5 separate regions of the Homo sapiens genome follow, and regions 2, 3, 4 and 5 are each linked to region 1. The links are contacts of gene promoters, found by promoter capture Hi-C in human tissues and cell types (Jung and others, 2019). All regions are on one chromosome and are shown on one strand. The core of a region is centred on a gene start or on the middle of the fragment in contact, and the rest is flanking DNA. Distances in the headings are between cores, read along the strand shown. Region 1 holds the start of HUNK (hormonally up-regulated Neu-associated kinase). Region 2 overlaps URB1 (URB1 ribosome biogenesis factor). Region 3 overlaps URB1 (URB1 ribosome biogenesis factor). Region 4 overlaps MRAP (melanocortin 2 receptor accessory protein). Region 5 has its middle 44 kb from the start of LINC00159.

Region 1 (2,553 bases), core at 37-2,536:
CCTCCCATGCAACTGTCCTGTTAAGATTTGATTACTGAATTAGAGACATTAAAAGGATTGAATGAACGTTACTGAAATAGTCAAGGCCGGTGGGAGCAAAGAAGTCCCTTCAGCACAGCAAGAAAAACATTTTAAGCTGTATCTTTAATATTGGTAAACGGGAACAATGAGACAGAACAACAGAAAACGCAGTATGTTCCGTCATAATAACTGAGGCTGGTGACTTGTAACAGGTAGGTGGATGAATATAGTAGCGTATTTAAAATTAGATGTATTGAAAGCAGGCATTTCTCTGCGTCCCTCTTCAGATGGGTCAGCGAGACCCCCAGACACTGGATTGATGACAGCTGTTGTTCCCCCACCCCCCACTCCCAATCTCAAAGCATTGCTATGGGTCGATGTCATACTTGTTTACTCAGGAATAAACAATGAAAGGAACTTTGTTAGGACCAAATCCTTCCTTTCAGCTCTGATGTTGCATGATCGGGGTGAAGTTTCCATCAAATGCGGGCACCTCAACAGGTAGCATTTTGTAAATGCCTCCTCCTACCTACCCTCCTCCTTCTCCCTCACAAGATTCTTCATTTTCGGTTTGAGAAGACGTTGGGGATCCTGGGAGAGGGTCCAGTGTCGTCAGGGCAGTTGCAATTGTTTATGCGATGAGCACAGTCACAGCGCTTGCAGAACAAAAGCATCGAAGAGAGGCGAGCGCCGGTCCACCTCCTGCAATCACAGGCATCATTTCAATGGAAGGCAAAGAAGGTGTAAGCTACAAGCAGAGGCAGCAAACGCCCTGGTTCCTACATTGCTGCTGCTACTATTACTGCTGTGGCTGCGCCTCCTCCAACACAGCCAACCAGGCTGCGTGCGAGCCCGGGCAGACGCCTGGCCGCCTCCCCACCCTTTCTTCCAGCCATCCATCTATCCTTCCACCCCCGGTCCAGGGGGCCCTACTGTGTGGCGGACTCAGGGCCGGGCACGCAACCCGACTCACAGTCCACGGAGTTCGAGAGCCTTCCCCCTTCCCCCCGCCCCGGGTGGGTGCGGCCAGTGGGGGATTTCACCGCCGAAAGGTCCAGAAAACCCAAGCCCAGAATCCGGGCAAGAGGCGCAGCCGGAGGCGGCCCGACCTGGGCGGCCCGGGAGCGCGCGCCTCCGAGGCCGCGCAGGTTCTCCCTGTCTGGCGCTCAGGTGGCTTCTCCGTCCACTCCGCCGCTCCCCTCCCCGGGCCCTCCCCTCTCCAGCGAGGGTCGAGTTTGACTGTGGCGCGCGGGGAAGGAGGGGCTACTAGGGATTTGAAAGTGCACGGGCTGCGGAGTGGAGCTCGCATCTGTTCCCGCCGCCCGCGAGCGGATTAAATTTCTGCAAATTCAAACTGAATGGGGCTTTCTTCTGCTGCCTTCCAGAGGGCGCCGGCAGCCCGCCGCGCGCTTCTCTCCGGCGGGAGCGGCCGCCCAGCGCACGGCTAGGAGCGATCGCGGGAGCCCGACCCAAGCCCGTGCGGGCCAGACGGCGGCGGCGAGGCGGAGGCTGCGGAGGCACCCGGGCTCCCGGACCCAGGCACCCGGACCCCGGGACCCAGGCGCCGCCGGACCGCGCCCCACCCCGCGCGCCCGAGCAGGGCGACTGTCATTAGCTTCCTGGACGGGACCCGGGGCGGGATCCTGGTGTCCTGAAAGGGGCCCGGGCGACCCTAAGAGGAAGAACTTTTGGGGGCGGGGTCCCCGGTCCCGCGTCCCCTGGGCAGCCGCTATTGTCTACGCGCCTCGCTGGGCGGCGCGGGGGGCGTGATCGCGGCGGCCCCGGGCTCTGGGTGCGGAGACCCAGGCGGGGCTGGGCCCAGGGCGGCGGCGGGAGAAGCCGGGGAAGCCGAAGAGCCTGGGGAGGAGGAGCTGCGAGCGCGGGAGACGAGCAGGAGCCGCGCGGGCCGCGGCGAGCGCGATGCCGGCGGCGGCGGGGGACGGGCTCCTGGGGGAGCCGGCGGCGCCTGGGGGCGGCGGCGGCGCGGAGGACGCGGCCAGGCCCGCGGCGGCCTGCGAGGGAAGTTTCCTGCCTGCCTGGGTGAGCGGCGTGCCCCGCGAGCGGCTCCGCGACTTCCAGCACCACAAGCGCGTGGGCAACTACCTCATCGGCAGCAGGAAGCTGGGCGAGGGCTCCTTTGCCAAGGTGCGCGAGGGGCTGCACGTGCTGACCGGGGAGAAGGTGAGTCTCCCGGGCGCCGTGGGGCTGGGGCACAGGGGCGGGAGTCGGCGGCCAGGACCCCGCGGGGAGCACTGCACTGGGAGTCCCAGTGTGCAGTCCCGGGCCAAGCGCCTTCCCCCTCCGCCCGGCTTTCCTGTTGGGTTAAAACGCGCGCTCAGCATCTCGCAGCCTTTCCCGAAGGCGGCCTGCGGTCCGCTGCCCGGGGGTTGGGGGCTTGGGAGGGGACGGCCTTGCCCCGGGAAGCGTCCCGCGCGGCCGTTCTGCTCGTGGAAGGGCGCCGCCTGGCGACACTAGCGCGGGGGGCGGGATGGGGCCCCTCTGCCCTTCAGGCCGGCAGGGGCGGCGGATCCG
Region 2 (2,553 bases), core at 18-2,517, 470 kb after region 1:
GGGACTGTCAGTGCTAAGAAGCCTGCTCTGTAGCTGCCTCCACAGGGTCTTCCTCAAGACAGGAATGACAGCGGAAGACACTAGGGCAGAGATACAAAGGAGAAGTCATCACACCCAATGGTGGGCTGCAGCCAGCTTGGACCAGCTCCTAGGAACTGGTTGCTATATTTTAGGTATCCTGTGACCCTGGTGATGCCACACCGGTGGCCTGAAATTGGTCACGGCAGGAGTACTGACACCATGGAAACTGGCACACCTGTCTCCTTCAAGGGTCCTCCCCTATCTCATCAGTCAACACTCTTGATGGATACTCTTCAACACAGGGGGCCCTGGCTATAGACGCTATTTCTAAGCTCATGATGAGACCATGAGTGCCAAGGTTCTCAATTCATATGGGATTCATTCTTCAAAGCCATGGAATAGGGAGGGTAGCTGCTATGGTTTGGATGTCTGTCCCCTCCAAATCTCATGTTGAAATGTGATCTCCAGTGTTGGAGGTGGGGTCTAATGGGAGGTGTTTGGGTCATGGAGGCAGGTCCCTCATGAATGGCTTGGTGCAGTCCTTGTGGTAGAGTGAATGAGTTCTGGCTCACCCTATTAGTTCCCAGAGTGCCAGGTGTTAAAAAGAGCCTGCCACCTCCTGTGCCTCTTGCTTCCCCTCTGGCCGTGTGATCTCTGCAGAGCTGGCTCCGCTTTTTCTTCCACCATGAGTGGAAGCAGCCTGAGGCCCTCACAAGAAGCAGACGCTAGCTCCTTGCTTCCTGTACAGCCTGCAGACGCATGGGCCAAATAAGCCTCTTTTCTTTATAAATCACTCATCCTCAGGTCTTCCGTTATACCAATGTTAAATGGACTATGACTAGAAGACTTGCAGGGCACTGTCTTACTTTTTAAAACCTCTGTCATCAATGATAGGAAGTTATGCAAAACAGAGGCAAAGTGGTGAGTAAAAATCACCCATGCATTCAACAAAAGGGAATTACATTAAATTTGGGGTAATTGAAAAGTGCCTCAGCTCTGAAACCCAGTGAGTGGAGACAGAAGAGAGAGCTGAACCCAGGCTGCCTCGACTCAACATCAACTCATCAACATCTCCCCAGAGGGCAGGGAACCCTGGGACATGGGATGGATTGGCACCCAAGAACTCCTTCAACGTAACAGGACAGCCCTAAATAACCCCCGCTACTGTACCCAACTCCCGCCAGCTTCATGTGGGGGAACTCAGACCTGATGGGGCACAATGGGCTGTGCCTCAAGCCACAAAGTAGGGAGACTGAAGGGAGACAGGGTACTGGGGAGAATTACTCCACCTTTCTCCATCTTCAGAGTTGTGTCAGACACTGGAAACTAACCCACATCCCAGAACCTGAATTTCTAGGGTTTAAAAATGGCCATGCAGTTCACCTTCTTAGCCCGTGCAACTTAAGACCCCAGCTGCCCAAAGCTAGCCTTTCCCTTACCTCCTGCTGGGCGTGTGAAGTGGCTCCGTGTCCTGCACTGGAGGTACACATGGATGAGGGGAAGGAAGTCGTCCAGGTCCCCCTGGAGGCCGAGCCCTGGGCCAGCCTGCAGGCACCACTGCTCGAACCACAGCAAGTGGGTGCAGCTCTCCTGGAGGAGCAGGGCAGCGATGCTGAGGGCCGCCTGTGTGCGCCGGGCCAGGCAGTAGTCAAGCAGATCAGCCCCGACTGCGGGGGCCAGCACAGGGTCTCTCTGCAGAGTGTGGAGGAGCACTGTGTCCAGCTCGTCCACTGCTAGCGTGGGCAGCAGAGCCCCCAGGCCTCTCACATACTCGGAGGACCACAGGAGCTCACCACTCTGCAGCTGATCCTGGGGGCTGCAGGTCAGCAGCTGCACCAGGGTCTTTCCAAGAGCATTCAGGTGTCTTTCCTTCCCGGGGGATTTCGTGGGTTGCTGGGTCACCAGGTGTGTCTCAGGCAGGCTCAGCAAGGCCAGGGTGACCTCACGGAGCTGGGCACCCTCCATGTATGGATGCAGCTCCTGCAGGGCCTCCAGCTGCGGCGGGGTCTTTGGTGGTGATGTGGCCGGGCCCGCCCTCCTGTTCTGAAGTTCCTTCAGCACACTCTGGGTGATGGCCTCTGAGTACCTGGCCAGAAGGCCCAGCTGCCCAATGTTCTGGAGGATCGGGGCACTTGCTGCCAGCAGCTGAAGGACCCCTGCACTAAAGTGGGTGGCCAGGAGCTTCACGAGGACAGGGCTGAGCGTGTGCGGCGGGAGGGCCTGCTGCTCCAGGGCCAGGAACCAGCCCTCCAGGGTGGGGTGCCTGAGGATGGCCACAAGCACCTCCTCCAGCGTCTGAAAGGCAGTGACGAGGCACAGACGTCACATAGAGCACAGGGCTAAGACAGGGGCGGCAGCTGCCACGCAAGTATTCACTGTTGTTAGCGAGACAGAGAGCAGAAGGCCCCTTTCCTAATCCATTCCATCCTCAAGCCTACATTTCCATGCCCCCCTCGGGGTGCCCAAGGCATCGCAGCCAAGCCCAGCCAGAGCTGTCATCCAGTTATACCACAATCGCCTGAGACACTCCAC
Region 3 (2,553 bases), core at 40-2,539, 450 kb after region 1:
GGAACCAAACACAAGCCAACTGAAATGACTACTCCAAATGAGTAATCATGGAATATAACATCAATAAGAGATAGTCCATTGATGACATTTTTAAAAGTTAAAGAAAGATAAAGCATTTTAAGCAGGGACACAGAAGATACAAAAACCCAAAACCAAGCTTCTAGAGATGAAAACTAAAATATCTGAGCTGAAAAATGCATTGGATGGTGAAATGGTTTGGATTTGTGGCCCTACCCAAATCTCATGTTGAATTACAAACCCCCATGTTGGAGGTGGGGACTCCGGTGGGAGGTGATTGGATCTCGGGGCAGATTTCCCCTTGCTGTTCTCATGCTAGTGAGTTCTCACAAGAGCTGGTTGTTTAGAAGCGTGTGGCACTGCCCCACTTCCTCCTGCTCTGGCATGTAAGATGTGCCTGCTTTCCCTTTGCCTTCTACCATAATTGAAAGTTTCCTGAGGCCTCCCCAGCCATGCTTCCTACACAGACTATGAAACCATGAGTCAATTAAACCTCTTTTCTTGATCAATTATCCAGTCTCGGGTTCTTTATACCAGTGCAAGAATGGACCAATAGAGATGGGATTATCAGTGATTAGACACTAGACCAAAAAGGATTAGCGAACTTAAGACAGCAATAGAAACTATCCAAGCTGAAAACACAGAGAGGAAAAATATGAACAGAACATCAGTGTCCTGTGGGTATGTGTAATAGGGGGTCCCTGAAAAAAATCCGAAGAAATAATGGCCAAAACTTTTTGAAATCTGACCAAAAAAAACTATAAACCTAGACAGCCAAGAAACTCAAAACATAAAACATTAAGAATATCATGCAAGCATCATCACAAATAAAGCATATATATTTATATATAAAAGAAAATCACACGAAAGCACATTGTGATCAAATTGTTTGACACCAGTGATTTAAAAAAAATCTTAAGAGCAGCCACATGACATACAGAAGAATGAAGATAAGAATGGCAGATTTCTTGTCAGAAATAACTCAATTCAGAAACCAGAGGAGCAACTTCTTTAAAGTACTGTAAGAAAAAAAACTGTCAACCTTGAATTTTATACCCCATCAAAATCTTTCAAAAGTTAAGACTTTTTTCAGACACAAAAAAGCTAAAACAATTGGTCACCAGTATCAAAATCTTTCAAAAGTTAAGACTTTTTTCAGACACAAAAAAGCTAAAACAATTGGTCACCAGTAGACTTGAACAATAAGAATTCTTAAAGGAAGTATTTTAGGAAGAAGAAAAATGATACCAGATAGAAATCTAGATCTACACAAAGGAATGGTAACAATATGGCAAATATCAAATATTTACACTTCTTTTAGAAATAATGACAATTTGAAGCAAAAACAACACTATATTGTAGGGTTTATAGCATACTGAAATGTAATGCATGACAAGAATAGCAGAAAAGCCAGAAGGGAGGAAATGGATCTATACTGTTACAAGGTCCTTATACTATACATGAAGTGGTATCATCTCACTTGAAGATAAACTATAATAGATTGAAGATGTGTACTATAAACCCTAAAGCAACCAGTAAAAATATGCATGCATGCACTCATACACATACAAAAGTTGCAGGTAAAAGTCAACAAGAGATAAAATAGAGTCAGATCAATAATCACATTAAATATAAATGATGTATGCACTCCAAAATAAAAGGCAGAGATGGTCAGATTAGATAAAAAGCAGAACCTAGGTACATGCTGCCTTCAAGAAACCCATTTTCAATATCAAGACATAGACTAAAAGTGAAAGGATGAAAAGAGCATAGTCAGATGACTCTTGGGCATAGCAGTTTAGGAACAAAATTTTCTAATTCTCTTATCTCTACTTTTTTAAAGCCAGAGTCTCCTTTGTCGCCCAGGCTGGAGTGCAGTGGCACAATCTTGGCTCACTGTAACCTCCACCTTACGGGTGCAAGCGATTCTTGTGCCTCAGCCTCCTGAGTAGCTAGGACTACAGGCATGTGCCACCATGCCCAGCTAATTTTCTTATTTTTAGTAGAGACGGGGTTTCACCATGTTGGCCAGGCTGGTTTCAAACTCCTGGCCTCAAGTGATCAGCTCGCCTTGGCCTCCCAAAGTGCTGGGATTACAGGAATGAGTCACCGTGCCCAGCCTAATTTTCTTATTTCTCACAAGTGACTGTTTTTGATAAGAGGGAAAAAGAAATCCAAAAGCTTTAAAAGCACCAAACTAGATACAATTATATTGTTTTACAAAAGATGGAAGAAATGTGTTTAAGAGACACCTACATAAGTACATAACAAATATAGGTAAATGGAATACATTTGGGAAAGAGAAAAGTCTAAACATTTAGTTTATACTCACTAAAAGCAGCTAATACTCAGCTGGCTGGGATATTTTTAGTAATCACTGACATTCTAAGACAAATGGATTTTCCACGTGTCCATGAGGAAAAGTCAGTTTCCTGTTTTGTGCTCATCTCTGCTACTCTATGAAAATCTTGGCTTTGTAACACTTATGGAAAAGAGCCGCCCTCAGAATGCTGAAAACATGATAGGCTATTTAAA
Region 4 (2,553 bases), core at 54-2,553, 430 kb after region 1:
CTGGGAGAAAGGGGCTCTCAGGTGCTGAGTTTGAAGCTGTTCCCTTAGATCCCTGGTAGAATTTATGTAGGTGCTATAAGACCTCAAACCCTGCACTATTTTTAGGAAGGAAAAAGAGCATTAGTGTCCGCAGAAACCTAAAATATCCCTACAGAATAAAACTTCCAATCCCATTTTCTGACAGCATATGCACTCTTTTACTGTAAGGGTTGTAAAATAGATTGTAACTCTTCGGGAGTGTAGGACAATGCACAGGGGGTGGGCAAGGAAGGCTAAGAGAGTCAGAGGCTTCTTTCAAAAATCCTTAAGCTGGCTGGGTGCGGTGACTCACGCCTGTAACCCCAGCACTTTGGGAGGCCGAGGCAGGTGGATCATGAGGTCAGGAGATCAAGACCATCCTGCCCAACATGGTGAAACCCCATCTGTACTAGAAATACAAAAATTAGCTGGATGTGGTGGTGGGCACCTGTAATCCCAGCTACTCGGGAGGCTGAGGCGGGAGAACGACTTGAACCCGGCAGGCGGAGGTTGCAGTGAGCCGAGATTGTGCCACTGCACTCCAGCCTGGTGACAGATTAAGACTCTGTCTCAAACAAAAAAAAACAAACAAAAAACAAAACAAAACAAACAAACAAACAAAACAAACCAAAAAAACTCCTTTTAAGCTTAGGACACACAGTTCAACCTCATTTCCCTTTCCCCAGGAATCCAGAGGTGCTCTTAAACAGTTCCCTGCTCTAGGGGACTGCGTCAGTTTCTCAGCTCGGAGACAGACAGGAGAGACATGAGAGCCAGCCTGGGGGTCTTTGCTGTCCCTGCCCCCGTGGAGTGTAAATGCCAAGTTGCTGATGAATTACAAGGCAATGGATGCTCATGATTCTTTCGCCAATACTGTGCCTTTTCATTATACCCTGTTTTGAGGGGGATTTGTTTTTTTTGTTGTTTTTTTTTTTTTTTTTTTTTTTTTGAGACAGCATCTTGCTCTGTGGCCCAGGCTGGAGCACACTGGCGTGATCGTAGCTCACTTCAGCCTTGAACTCCTGGCCTCAAGTGATCCTCCGACCCCAGCCTCATGAAGGGGTAGGACTATGGGCATTACCGTGCCCAGGTAATCAAAAAAATTTTTTTTTAGACATGGGGTCTTGCTATGTTGTCCAGGCTGGTCTCGAACTCCTGGACTCGAGTGATCCACCTCCCACCTTGGCCTCCCAAAGTGTTGGGATTATAGGCATGGGCCACTGTGCCCAGCCCATTATACCCTGTTTTTAATGTTACATTTTAGGGTCCAAGATCAACTCTTATGAGTCCTCAGTTTTTCCTGCTATCTCTCAGGGGTCGTAGATGGCAGAGATGACATCCTTTACTCAAATACCAATCTTCACCCCAGAGCCTCCACCTCTGCCTCTATGTAGATTACTCTCACTTTATTCATTCTTTCAGTGGTTTGCACGTTCTCTCATTCATTTACTCACAGTGTTAGTGCTGGAAGCACTGCAGAAGTTCAGAGGAGGAGGAGGTTGGGGGTGGAACATTGTGGGTGAATGAGGGGAGTTAGCAATTTCTAATGTGCTGGTTTAGCCCCCTCTGAATCCTGAACAGTCCCTCGCAAAAGGCGCTCAATGAATTCTCGTTAGGTTATCATCCTCTAATAGCGCCTTTTGGTCACACACATAGGCGTCTAGAATATCTCAGCTTGTGACATCTTGGCATTACGCAGTTGGTCTGGGATAAGACACTTGCAGACCCTAATTACGAGCCGGATTGCCCACAGCCACAGACAACCACCAAGAAAAACTGTCGTGCTAGAAAGTAGTTCCATAGCAACTGGCCTAACATTCCCAAACTGGAGCCTGGAGAAGGAAAAAGGCCCCTCCTGGCCAGCCAGGTTCTACCCAGGGCCCCAGGGGGGCTAAGTGTGTTTCCTGGTTTCCCTTTCCCCCTTCAGCCTCAGGCCACAAATACAGCCATCATGCTGGTAGCAAAAGTGCTTTTTCCTTCCTGCCACAGCCCCTGAGATGAGACTTCCTGCCTGAGAGAGGGACTCGCTATTTCCACCTTGCCGATCCAGGCATGAGCAGACCTAGGCTAACTCCCGTAGAGCAGAAAGGGCCTCCCCACCGGAGCGCTGTAGCCCAGCGCACATCCTCCGCAGGGTATCAACTCCTGGGGTCTCTGAAGCTGTTCCACCAACGGCCCCTGGTAGGCGCTGCATCCCTCCCGGGGGCCCAGGAGTCCTTCCTAACACACAGAGCTGCCCACAGCCCTCTCCTCTCCCTCCCATCCTTCAGGACTGTTCCTCTGAGCACCACTAGGAGCCGGGCAAGCAGATGCATGGGGTGGGGGGGCACACAATTCCATTCAGTGTTTCCTCTTAACAATCACCCTAAACAGACCCCGTGGCCAGCTGCCCTGAGGAAAAAGACACTTCTTGGCTCCCCTGTTCTTTCCCAAAGTTATTGTTAATGGGAGATCTTCCCCATGGTAACAGCTGAGAGGCTGGAGGACAACCGAAACTCAGGGCCCTCATTCCACAATACCCTGGGACTCCTTACT
Region 5 (2,553 bases), core at 23-2,522, 260 kb after region 1:
TGGGAGGTGACTAGGTTATGAGAGCAAATCCTTCATTTGTTCCCTTTAAAAAAGACTCTAGAGATTTTGTGCCCCTTCTGCCATGTGAGGACACAGTGAGACAGCCGTCTGTAAACAAGGAGGTGGGCACTTGCCAGACCCTGAATTTGCTGGGCCTTGATCTTGGACTTCCCAGCCTCTAGAGCTATCAGAAATAAATTTCTGTTATGTATAAGCCACCCAGTTTATGGTAACCTGTTACAGCAGCCCAAGCTGTCTAAGACAACCAAGGAGGTACAATTCATAAGGAAACAGATTTTCCACATGGTTGCTGTGGGCCAAGGTTGACAGAACAGAATCTCTTGGGTCCTTCCATGATGCCAGGGCACTGTGGTCTCCCGAAACATGAGATAGAAGCTGAGAGAGATTGATTATGAAAATGTCTGCTATTCTTCACCCTTCCTTGTATCTACTGCTTTCAATGTTTCTTTGCAGTTCTGATCCCCAAACATGTGAGAGAGCCCAGCCAAGATCAGCAGAGCCACCTCCCTGACCCTCAGCCAACCTCAGATGGATGGATGAGCCCAGGTGAAACTAGAGGGACCATCCAGCTTACCTGTAGACTTGCAAGCAATAACAATGCTTGTTATTTTATCCCACTGAGTTTCTGGGTGGTTGTTATGTAGGTATCATGAACTGATACAGGAACCATGTAGAATACCAGGAAGACAAGAGTTGCAGGACAACTCAGAGCTCCCCCTCTTCCTGCTCCTTGGGGAAGAGATATGGTAGGGAAACAGATGGACCAGCTAGCTAGTAGAGGCTATCAAATGAATTTAAAAAAAAGAAAAAAAAAACAGCTACTCTTTAATGAGCACCTACTATGCACATGGCAACTTTGTGAGGTGGGCATGGGGGCAGCAGTCACCGCTAGATGCCTACCCAATACATATTCTCCACTTCACTCTTCCTTTTTTACTAACAGAATCTTATTTGGGAGAGGAAACAATGTACCCATATTAAAAAATAATATTTCGTAAACTCCCTTGCAGTTAGAGGTGGCCATGTGACACAGTTTTGGCCAATGAGATGTGAGTGGATAGGGCTTCTGGGAAAGCTCTGTCAGAGGAAGGCTGTCCCCACTGAAGCATACCTTGTGCTGTTTGCTCTACCCATTTCTGGCTCTTAGAAAGACATTGAGGCCAGCCATGGTGCCTCACACCTGTAATCCCAGCACTTTGGGAAGCCAAGGCGGGTGGATCACCTGAGGTCAGGAGTTCCAGACCAGCCTGGCCAACATGGTGAAACCCCATCTCTACTAAAAATACAAAAAATTAGCCAGGCATGGTGGCGCATGCCTGTAATCCCAGCCAACCGGGTGGCTGAGGCAGGAGAATTGCTGGAACCCAGGAGGTGAAGGCTGCAGTGAGCTCAGATTGTGTCACTGCACTCTAGCCTAGGTGACAGAGCAAGACTCTGTCAAAAAAAAAAAAAAAAGAGAAAAAGAAAGAAAGAAGGAAAGGAAGGAAGGAAGGAAGGAAAGAGAGAAAGAGCGAGAGAGTGAGAAAGAGAGAGAGAGAAAGAGAAAGAGAGAAAGAAATAAAGAAAGAAAGAAAGAAAGAAAGAAAGGAAGAAAGAAAAAGAAAAAGAAAGAGAGAGAAAAAGAGAGAGAAAAAGAAAGAGAGAGAGAAGGCTGGAACTATTACAGCCATCTTATTACCATGAGGGAAAAGCCAAGAGAATTACAGAGACTTACACCATGATATTATTTAGCCTCTGAACTAAACACTACCAAATGCCAAACCCAGATATCATGTCGCATGAGGGGGAAAAAATCCTCAGTTTTTCACACCATACTTTGTTGGAGTTTTTCATGACATGGATCCAGCCTATTTCCAAGTAATACATCGAAGATTATTTTCATTTTACAGATCAGAAAACCAACACTTGGAGAAATTAAAAGCTTGCCCCGGGCTGCCAGTATATTATTATATTAATGATCTCCAGTGAATTCCACCTCCCAGTATCTATATCCTTCTATAATTCACCCTCCCTCCCATATTAACTCAGAACTTGACCATGTGACTTGCTTTGGCCAATGGGACATCAGTAAATGTAATGCAAACAAAGGCTTTATAAATGCACGTGCACTTATAAAGGGGCTTCCCTTTTTGGAATGGTCCCTCCCTCCACCATGGGAAGAAACCTTGTCTTCACATGTTTCTCACATGAGAGACCAGGATGAGAAAAGACCACATGGAGAAAGAGGCCCACCTGTCCCAGTGATTCTAGACATTCCCCCTGGGACCTGCCAGCCCTCGCTGCAGCCACACAAGTAACCCCTGCAAAGACCGGCAGAGGAGCCTCCCAACTGAGTCCCATCCAAACTGCAGAATTTTTGAACAAATACATGGTTGTTAATTCAAACCACGAAACATTGGGGTGGTTTGTTACACAAAAGTATATAACTGCTACGCCTAGCTAATAAATGGCAATAGCAGAACTTGAATTTAGATCTGTTTGACACCAAGGGCCACGTTTGTAACCACTCTCCTATTCCCCACCACCATACTC

Evidence for each region. The method cuts DNA at HindIII sites, captures the fragments that hold promoters and counts their contacts. A contact is called where the count stands out against the background at its distance.
Region 2: a fragment that was not itself captured here is called in contact with the fragment with the promoter of HUNK in region 1 in 1 of the 25 tissues and cell types used here (lymphoblastoid cells).
Region 3: a contact is called between a fragment that was not itself captured here and the fragment with the promoter of HUNK in region 1, in 4 of the 25 tissues and cell types used here (dorsolateral prefrontal cortex, hippocampus, lymphoblastoid cells and 1 more).
Region 4: a contact is called between a fragment that was not itself captured here and the fragment with the promoter of HUNK in region 1, in 1 of the 25 tissues and cell types used here (thymus).
Region 5: a fragment that was not itself captured here is called in contact with the fragment with the promoter of HUNK in region 1 in 1 of the 25 tissues and cell types used here (dorsolateral prefrontal cortex).

What each region holds. Positions count from the first base shown.
Region 1 is chr21:31,871,734-31,874,286 of GRCh38, forward strand. It overlaps HUNK (hormonally up-regulated Neu-associated kinase), which reads left to right and starts at 1,287. Exons shown (of 11, transcript NM_014586.2): 1 at 1,287-2,202. The coding sequence starts at 1,942. RefSeq lists silencers at 1,405-1,454, 2,381-2,553. The HindIII fragment of the contact is 17,092 bases long and covers 1-2,553 here.
Region 2 is chr21:32,345,496-32,348,048 of GRCh38, forward strand. URB1 (URB1 ribosome biogenesis factor) reads right to left here. Exons shown (of 39, transcript NM_014825.3): 22 at 1,461-2,316; 23 at 1-80. Among named protein-coding and RNA genes, the nearest start is that of SNORA80A, 31 kb to the right of the region's middle. The HindIII fragment of the contact is 7,941 bases long and covers 1-2,553 here.
Region 3 is chr21:32,326,299-32,328,851 of GRCh38, forward strand. All of the region lies in intron 30 of URB1 (URB1 ribosome biogenesis factor), which reads right to left. Among named protein-coding and RNA genes, the nearest start is that of MRAP-AS1, 19 kb to the left of the region's middle. The HindIII fragment of the contact is 5,656 bases long and covers 1-2,553 here.
Region 4 is chr21:32,304,024-32,306,576 of GRCh38, forward strand. All of the region lies in intron 1 of MRAP (melanocortin 2 receptor accessory protein), which reads left to right. MRAP-AS1 (MRAP antisense RNA 1) reads right to left here. Exons shown (of 2, transcript NR_187556.1): 2 at 2,441-2,553. Among named protein-coding and RNA genes, the nearest start is that of MRAP-AS1, 3.4 kb to the right of the region's middle. RefSeq lists a silencer at 2,435-2,553. The HindIII fragment of the contact is 9,800 bases long and covers 1-2,553 here.
Region 5 is chr21:32,128,614-32,131,166 of GRCh38, forward strand. No RefSeq gene overlaps it. Among named protein-coding and RNA genes, the nearest start is that of LINC00159, 44 kb to the left of the region's middle. The HindIII fragment of the contact is 4,896 bases long and covers 1-2,553 here.